Regions from separate parts of the Homo sapiens genome. Here region 1 is linked to region 2. Evidence: promoter capture Hi-C in 16 types of primary human blood cells and fetal thymus (Javierre and others, 2016). All regions are on one chromosome and are shown on one strand. Each heading gives the region's core, a stretch centred on a gene start or on the middle of the fragment in contact. The rest is flanking DNA. Distances are from core to core; before and after follow the strand shown. Region 1 holds the start of FZD8 (frizzled class receptor 8). Region 2 holds the start of ZNF33B (zinc finger protein 33B).

What was found. The method cuts DNA at HindIII sites, captures the fragments that hold promoters and counts their contacts. A CHiCAGO score of 5 or more calls a contact.
Region 1: a contact is called between the fragment with the promoter of FZD8 here and the fragment with the promoter of ZNF33B in region 2, in 1 of 17 cell types (total B cells). The highest score is 5.6, in total B cells.

Annotation. Positions count from the first base shown.
Region 1 is chr10:35,639,848-35,644,223 of GRCh38, forward strand. It overlaps FZD8 (frizzled class receptor 8), which reads right to left and starts at 2,449. Exons shown (of 1, transcript NM_031866.3): 1 at 1-2,449. The coding sequence starts at 1,582. LOC124902528 (zinc finger protein 469-like) reads right to left here and starts at 2,999. Exons shown (of 2, transcript XM_047426128.1): 1 at 2,783-2,999; 2 at 1,881-2,566. The coding sequence starts at 2,999. The coding sequence ends at 1,881. MIR4683 (microRNA 4683) reads right to left here and starts at 1,405; the gene lies at 1,325-1,405. LOC105376494 (a long non-coding RNA gene) reads left to right here and starts at 3,468. Exons shown (of 2, transcript XR_930820.3): 1 at 3,468-4,376. RefSeq lists silencers at 74-368, 908-997 and an enhancer at 638-797. The HindIII fragment of the contact is 11,239 bases long and covers 1-4,376 here.
Region 2 is chr10:42,636,220-42,640,766 of GRCh38, forward strand. It overlaps ZNF33B (zinc finger protein 33B), which reads right to left and starts at 2,351. Exons shown (of 5, transcript NM_006955.3): 1 at 2,255-2,351; 2 at 701-753. The coding sequence starts at 709. LOC105378268 (a long non-coding RNA gene) reads left to right here and starts at 2,086. Exons shown (of 2, transcript XR_945898.3): 1 at 2,086-2,334. RefSeq lists enhancers at 1,113-1,981, 1,641-1,910 and a silencer at 2,101-2,270. The HindIII fragment of the contact is 7,213 bases long and covers 1-3,086 here.

The DNA.
Region 1 (4,376 bases), core at 1,199-3,698, 7.0 Mb before region 2:
TCTCCAGCTTGTGCGTCTTGGTGGGGCCGTCCTGTTGCTTGATGACCGAGCGGATGCGGAAGAGGGACACGAAGCCGGCCAGCAGGAACATGGTGCCGATGAAGAGGTAGATGACCAGCGGCGCCAGCACGAAGCCGCGCAGGTTGTCCAGGCTCTGGTTGCCCACGTAGCAGATGCCCGCCACCGGGTCGCCGTCCACCGAGCTGAGCGCCAGCACCGCGATGGACTTGACGCTGGGCACAAGCCACGCGGCCAGGTGGAAGTACTGCGAGTAGCCGGCGATGGCTTCGTTGCCCCACTTCATACCGGCCGCCAGGAACCATGTGAGCGACAAGATCACCCACCAGATGGAGCTGGCCATGCCGAAGAAGTAGACCAGCAAGAAGACCACGGTGCACAGCGCGGGGCCGGTGGTCTCGTAGCGCACGTGCTGCTCCACCGCGCCCAGCTCCTCGTACTCGCCGCGCCCGCCCGGGCCGCCCGCGCCCGCGCCCGCCGCGCCCGCGCCCGCCGCCGCGCCGCCCGCGCCCCCAGCGCCCCCCGCGCCCGGCGCGCCACCGCTGCACGCCACCTTCTCGTGGCCCGCCACCAGGCGCACTAGGTAGCCCACCGACACGAAGAGGTAGCAGGCCGAGAGGAAGATAATGGGCCGCTCCGGGTACTTGAAGCGCTCCATGTCGATAAGGAAGGTGGAGACGGTGGCGAAGGTGGACACGAAGCAGAGCACCGACCACAGGCCGATCCAGAAGACGGTGAAGGCGCGCTCGTCCTGGCTGAAAAAGGGGTTGTGGCAGGGCAGCGCGCAGTTAGCGATCTGGCCTGTCTTGACGCGGTTGTAGAGCGGGTGGCGCTCGCTGGACACGCTCACCATAGGCGCGCGGCACTGGCACCCGGGCTCGCAGGGAGCCGCGCCGCCGCCAGGGGGCCGCGCCTTCCCGCCACCGCCGCCGCCGCGAGCTGGGGGCGCCGCCGCGTCCCCGCCGCCACCGCCCCTGCCGCCGCCGCGGTGCGGGGGCCTGGCCCCCGGCGGGCGGCCGTGGCCGCTGCCCGAAGGCGGCTGCTCGCCGGGCGGCGGCGGCGGCAGGCGGCGCGGCGGGCTGGGCGCGGCGGTGGTTAGGTCGGTGCGGTTGTAGTCCATGCACAGCGTGTCAGGGTTGCCTTGCTCGGGCAGCCGGTCGCAGCGCATGCGGTCGGGCCAGGCGAAGCCGTACTGGCGCATGAGCGGCGCGCAGCCGGCCTTGGCGCGCTCGCACACCGAGCGGCAGGGCGGCAGCGGCTTCTTGTAGTCCTCTAGGCAGATGGGCGTGTACATGCTGCACAGGAAGAACTTGAGATCGGGCGAGCACTGGATCTCCACCAGCGGCCAGAACTGGTGCACCTCCAGGCCCGCCTCGTCTTGCGTGTCGTGGTTGAACTGATTGGGCATGTAGGTGTAGTTGTAGCCGATGCCCTTACACAGCGGCACGGTGATCTCTTGGCATGCCAGCTCCTTGGCCGAGGCGGCCGCAGCGCCGCTAGAGCGCTGCAGCAGCGCCAAGGCGGCCAGCAGCGAGGTCACTTCCAACAGGTAACCCCACTCCATGCTGTGCGCCTCGGCCCGGTGCCCTCGCCCTCCAGGCGGCGCGCAGAGGGGTGCCGGGGGGGGGGCCCACGAGAGAGCCGCAGACGGGTACAGCGGGTGATCTGGGGTCTCCCTTATGCTTCGCCCGGGAGGGGGGTCTGCCGATAATCTAACCCCTTCTAGGGGCGCGTCCGCAGCGGCGCGGCCCGCAGCCTGGGCAGGGCCCTTCCGCACTCCTTTCCGCCGCTCCGGGGGTTTGAAGGCGGCTGCAGGCGCGCGCCACAGTCCGTAGGTCCGCTCTGCTGGCCCCGGGTCGCGCTCAGCCCTCGCGGCGCAGAGCGGCCGGGCCTCGGCTCATCGTCCCGCGCTCGCTCGCCTCCTCTCCGCGCGCCCGACCACTTCTCCCCGCCGCGCCGGGCGGCGGTGACTCCGCCGGACAGAGAGGGCGGAGGCGCCGCAAGTTTCCTCTGGGGCCGCGGTGCGCAGTCAAGATGGCTGGGCCGGGCCGCTTGCCGCGCCGGGTCAGCCCTGGCGGCCACCACTCGGCCCCCGGGGGCTCATGCCCGCCCCCAAGGCCAAGCCGCCGCCGCCGCCGCCGGAGTTGGGGACCCGCCTCGGCCCAGGCCGCCGCCCTCTTTCTCCGGCGTCCGTCCTTCGTCCGTCCGCCGCCGGGACAGACGGACCCCCGCCGCCTGGAAAAGTCAGCGCCGCGCTCCGGCCGCAGTCGGGCGAGGTGCACACAGTCTCCTTCCTGCTGGACACCCAGGAGCAAATCCAGACCGGAAGGCGGAGCGGACACCTGAGTGGCGCGGCCCGCGCCCAGCCGCCGCCTCCTCCTCGGCGGGAGCAGCGCCCTTAGCCCAACTTCCCGGCTCCAGCCCCGCTCGCGCCGCGCTGCCGGCTCATGAATATTTATACAGCGCGGACTCGGTCTCCGCCCCCAGCCCCGCGAGCCAATCGCCGGGCGGTAGGGCGGAGTCCACGCGCTCCCAGGGCTCAGCCTTCCTTAAGGCAGTCCCCGAGTGTCCGCACTGCTGTGCGCGCTCTCTGCGGATGGAGAGTTTTGGTAACCTTGGGATTGACCGCAGAGACAGAGTGTTGGCCATGGCTGTCCCCATGGCGCTGAGTGCGTCGGAGGTCTTGGTCCCCTTACCCCGAGTCTGCCCTTGGGGACAGGGACGGGGTTTGGTGCAGCGCGCGCCTCCCCGGCGCGTTTCAAACCAGCCAAGCCCCTGCTGCCACCCTCCGCAAATGTGGGTGATCTGCAGGCGGCTGGGGTCTCGTGCTCCTCGGGGCGGCAGGAAGGTCTCGCAGCAGGCGAGCGCCGGGGAGGCCTGCCGGGGCTCGGCGCTGCAGAAGACCCGGGAAAGGGTGTCCTCCTTGGGGTTCTCAGAACGATGGTTTCTGAGACTTGGAGATGTGGGGGGTGTGGAGTCATTCTAAACTGGGGCTGGACCCGGGACGGCCCGGGTGAGATGCCCCGGAGCCCAGCCTTGGGCGCGCGAGGGGCGCGGGGGACAAATGCCCGCCAGAGACTCTCCTCCCGCCTCCGCTGCGTGACCTGGGGGAGCCTCAGTTTCCCCACCTAGAGAGTTGGGTGATCATAGCACAGATCTCCAAGGGGGCTTTGATAATTAGGTGAGATAAAATATAGGAAGCCCCGAGCCGCCGTGCTTTCTTAGGAAAAATCATTCAATTTCTTTCTAAAATTCAAAACAAACCTCGAAACTTATAAATAGGACAGGCTGGAAACTCTGGGGCTGGATTCCCTGTCTTCCCTTCGTTCTTTCAGGACGTCTATTCATCCATCCCAAGTTCACAGGCTTTTGCCAGAGCCTCCTTTTCTCTGGTGGGAGGCGGCGCTGCGCTCTGGCGTGGACTCCGCGACACGTATCTGCTCTCTGCACGAGGCCGGAGCCGGACCCGGGCTGCTTTTAGCAGCCGCTTGGGCCACCGCCAGCGAACGCTGCCCCCGCCGGCTCCGCCGCCACCTTAAGACGGGCCGGGAGGGGGGCTGCGGGCGGCCCGGGCCGGCGGCCTGGCAGGTTCATTTACGCTTGTTAGGGCGTCCCAGGGGGCTGTCTTTCTCCTAGAATGGAGTGTTTATTTTTTAATTGATGTGCTGTTTCATTTAGCGCTTGTATGGAACTCATGCTGGGGCAGTAATTACTGTAATCTCGGGAACAAGCATTTCAGTTAGCCAGGAGGGTGGCAGAATATGTTTCTCTCTCTCTTTCTCTCCCTCCCTCCCGCCTCCTCCCCATCTCCGTCCCCCTCTCTCCCTCTTCCTCCCTGCCTCTCTTCTGTCTTCCCTCTCTCTCTCTCCCCACCTCCTTTCCTTCTCTCTCTCCCCCACCACTTTCTCTCCCCCCTCCTCCTCTTCCCCTCCTCCCTCTCCTTCCTTCCCTCCCTTTTCTCTCCGCTCTCTCACTCTCTTCTTGTTTCAAGATTTTTGCTATTTGCCAGGTTTCATACCGGAACAAGTACAGTTGGAGAACAAAAGTTGCAGAGGGCGTGGGGACAGAGCAAAAGAATTAAAAGTACATTTGAGGCCAGTTCCGGTTTTCGGGGCGCTGCTGGTGGTGGTGGTAGCTCGTGGTTGTCCGTTCAGAAACAACTCTTGTCATAAAACAAAAATAACCAGCAGTATTTGTAGATTGCTTGAGCTGATGGCATCTATGTCTTCCTCCTCCTGCTTTCTGTAGCTCAGTTAGCAACCTCATTATGAAACATATTACAAGTAGACTGTCAGACCGCACCCTGCCCCAGCGCCCCGTTTTTGGCAAGTTCTGTGTTCTAGGCATATCCACCAATC
Region 2 (4,547 bases), core at 1,101-3,600:
AATAAAAATTAAAAAAGCAGTTTGACTCAATAGGCTGCACTCATTTCAGGGCTAACACTGGAAGGTTATTCACTATGGGTCCCTATGTTATAACCAAAAAAGGTATCTGCCAGGAAGTCTTTGTGTCTTCAGAGGAGTCAGTTTGTCTGTATCCATATCCAGTGTCTTCCTTTCTGCCATGGTTGTTGGAAACATAAGAAACACATGAAGCTCAACTTATTGACTCTAACTTGGCCCTGCTATTGATCTGTTACTTTATATTTTCTGGGAAGTTCAATTTTTATCTATTACTAATTTCTCATCTTAACATATTGACTCTTGGCCAGGCACGGTGGCTCACACTTGTAATCCCAACACTTTGGGAGGCCGAGGCGGGCGGATTGCCTGAGCTCAGGAGTTTGCGACCAGCCAGGGCAACACGGTGAACACATCTCTATTAAAATGCAAAAAATTAGCCAGGCGTGGCGGCCTGCGCCTGTAGTCCCAGCCAATCGGGAGGCTGAGGCAGGTGAATTGCTTGAACCCAGGAGGCAGAGGTTGCAAGGTTGCAGTGAACAGAGATGGAGACACTGCGCTCCAGCCTGGGCGACAGAGCGAGACTCCATGTCACAAACAAAACAAAACAAAAAAACCATACTGACTCTTACAAATCTCACAAAGTCCACCGCAAAATAAAGTAGGGAATTAATAAACAACTTACCTTGTTCATTTTGTTCTGTTCTTGGAAAGACGGAGACAACTCTGAAGATACAGCTGAGTTGGAAAAAGAGGAATGGGGTCATGAAAGATTTGGCCTGCCTGGCAACTCCCGGATTCTTCTGCCCTAAGAAGCCATACACACCCACTAGGTAAAATGCTCCGTCTGGGAGAATATCAATGTCCTCTGACACTTCGGAATAGGGGGTAGAAATGGTGAAAGAACACCCTAATACAACTCCAACATAACCATGTAGCTCTTGGGCACAAGATTTTTCATCAGGTGAAAGTAAATATTTGCTTCCTAAGGATTTCAATCTCCCTCAGTCTTCACAAAAAATGTATAATGACAATATTGGCCAAACAAGTTAACAATACATTTAATGAAAAAACATTAACACTAAAACCATTGTAAAGAATAGGACTAGGCTATCGATTTTCCCAGTAATGTTACTTAACCTCTGATGAGTTAGTCCACAGAAAACCATAAGCGTCAGTGCTTCAAAGAAAAAATCCGTTTTAATTTCTTCATCTAACTTTGTTGCTATTTCTCAAAAGGATGTTTTAAACTTGCTTTGATGTGTGTAGAAAAGTAGTACTGGCTTAGGGGTCAGGAGAAGTGACTTTTAGTTCTCCCTACTAACAAACTTTGATCCTGAACAAGTCAGTAACCTTGACAAACAAAAAACAAAAAAATTATTTTTTCTTCTAACAAATGAGGCAAAATTAGGTAATTCTGGTTTTTTGTTTGTTTGTTTGTTTTTGAGACGGAGTTTCGTTCTTGTTGCCCAGTCTGGAGTGCAATGGTGCAATCTCAGCTACCTGCAACCTCCGCCTCCCGGGTTCAAGCATTTCTCTGCCTCAGTAGCTGGGATTACAGTCATAGGCCACCACGCATGGCTACTTTTAGTATTTTTAGTAGAGACGGGGATTTGCCATGTTGGTCAGGCTGGTCTCGAATTCCTGACCTCAGGTGATCCACCCTCCTCGGCCTCCCAAAGTGCAGGATTACAGGAGAGAGCCACCGCGCTAGGCCAAAATTATGTAATTCTTGAAGATCCTTCCTGAGTGCAAGATCAAGTTAGGACAGAGGAACAGCAAATAACAAGATGGGGTGATGGACATGACTGGAGGGCAGTTCGAAACCTAAAGAGGATGAACGCAGAACGGGCAACAGAGTCCGTATGTCGGGCGGGCGACTGCACCCGCCCTTTCCTACCCAGGTAGGGCCGCGCCCTAGCACATGGGCGTAAACACGCTCAACCAGAGAACTGCCCCTCCCGCAAGGCTCAGCGCTCGGACCGCGCAAGCGCACATGCCCTCCTCCGCGGCCCCTACAAACAGGGCAACGCACAGGGCGTAGCCCGCTCCCTACAGAGGCTGCGCCTTAGAGGAACTGGCGTAGCGTCCTGGTAGACATGCTGCAGCCCCGCCGTCCCCGGCTTCTCCGTGAGGTCCCCGGGACTCCTCGCCACCACCTGGCACTGGCCCCCGGCTGCCTGCTCCTGGAGTCGCGCGGGGCCCCCTCTCCGTCCCTGCCCAACCCGCGGAGGCTTACCTCACTCTCTCTTCGGGTTGCATTCGCCATAAGAGAGCCGGTAGACCCCTGAAATCCCGGGACCGCCTCCCACGCAAAACGTGAGACAAACAAAAGGAAAGGCGGAAACGCAGAAACGCAGAGGTAGCCAGTGGATGAGGCATGCGCAGAGCCCACGCTCAAAGCCTGGCGCTGTTGGCGCCCAACCTGGAAACTACCTTTCCCGTGAGGACGCGAGAGCAGCCCTTCGGGATTGGCAGAGAGGTGCCCCGCTAGGCAGTGGACAGATGCGGTCTGAGTTGGTGTGGGAACTGCCCGCAGCCCTGGCTCTCCCGGGGCGACCCAAAGGGATGCACTGCAGGGGAGGTCTGTGTGCAGCAAGTGTGCAGGTTAGACACAGACGCCTCAAGGAAAGGACAGCTGTGTGTCAGTTTCACTTTAAATGTTAGGAAGTAGATCTTATTGATACAGTTTAAAAGACTTTGACACTATCAGCGATTCTTTGAGAGCAGGGATGGGGGGGATGGGGGAGGTGCCACAGGAAAGCTACTTCATCAAAATCGTTAACGCAATAAACGGAAATTGAAAAGTCAGAAAATAGACATAATCCGAAAGAAGAAAATAAATGTCACATGATTTCCCCTGTGACATTAAAATTGCTTGACTAAATGGAAATACATTTAGTCTATCTGTACCTTTCTTAGGAAGACAAAATTCCTAAAAGAATATCAACAAATTTTTTTATGTATTTTTTCTCTTTGATCTTTAGTGTATTGTGTACTTTACAAAAGCATTGTCAACTTTATCCAGAGTAAGTAAAAAACTAAATGAACAGCCATTATACGTTTTAAAAAGCTTGAAAAAATGCCTGAGAAATATCTATATCTATCTATATATATAATATTGCTCTATTCAAAGTAGTTTGGCACCTGCTCCATGGAAATAAGACACCATGATTGAGAGTATTCTTTAATGTGTAGTAAATACAGCATTTCAAAACAGTGAGGGAAAGAATGGAGTATTCCAAAGAGCATGTCATTCCTAACAATTTGGAATATAGAGATATATATAGATCACACGTGATAAAATTCACATGTATACAGTATTGAAACATTTAAACGAGTATAAATTTTTGAAAATTGACATGTGGGCCAGGCACAGTGGCCCACACCTGTAATCCCAGCAGTTTGGGAGGTGGAGGCAGGAGGACCACTTGATCCTTAGAGTCCAAGACCAGCCTGGGCGTTATAGTGGGACCCCTGTCTCTACAAAAAATTAAAAATAACAATTAGCTGGGCATGTAGGCAGGCGCCTGTGATCCCAGCTACTCAGGAGGCTGAGGTTGGACGATCACTTGAGCCCCAGGTTGCAGTAAGCCATCATGGCACCACTGCACTCCAGCCTGGGTGACAAAGTGAGACTTTGTCTCAAAAAAAACCAAAAAGGGATGTGATACCAAAGACAGAAACTATAAATTTAATATCAGTTACATTTTATAATAGAGAAAAATAAGCAGCTCCATTCCAGCAAAACTTTTTAAGTCCATTATGAGAATTGAAAGAAATGCAAATATGGCCGGGCATGGCAGCTCACGCCTGTAGTCCCAGCATTTTGGGAGGCTGAGGCGGGCAGATCATGAGGTCAAGACATTGAGAACATCCTGCCCAAAATGGTGAAACCCCTTCTGTACTAAAAATACAAAAATTAGCTGGACGTGGTGGTGCGCACCTGTAGTCCCAGCTAGTCAGGAGGCTGAGGCAGGAGAATCGCTTGAACCCGGGAGGTGGAGGTTGCAGTGAGCCAAGATCGCACTACTACACTCCAGCCTGGTGACAGAGTGAGACTGCATCTCAAAAAAGAAAAAAAGAAAAAAGGAAATGCAAATATTTGAGTAAAAATATGTGAAACATATTGAAATTTACATTTTTAAATTTATGCTTTATATACTGAAAAGTTCACTTTATTTGTTGCATAATTTTATGAGTTTTGACAAACGCACAGATTTGTGTAACCACCACCACAAGCAAGATACAAAATTATTTCACCTGTCAATAAAATTCCTCCATGCTACCTTTTGAAAGTCAGATTCTCTAACCACTCTTAGCCTCTTGCAGCCACTATCTAGTCTTTGGGCCTGTATGTTTGCCTTTTTTAGAATATTATATAAATGGAATCATACAATATGCAGTCTTTGAATCTGGTATCTTTTACTTAACACAATGCAATTGAGATCCTTCCGTGTTGTTTTGTGTACCAATACTTCTGTTTTTCTTGCTGTTAGAAACAAGTGCCTGGTGCCGCAGAGAAAACCAGC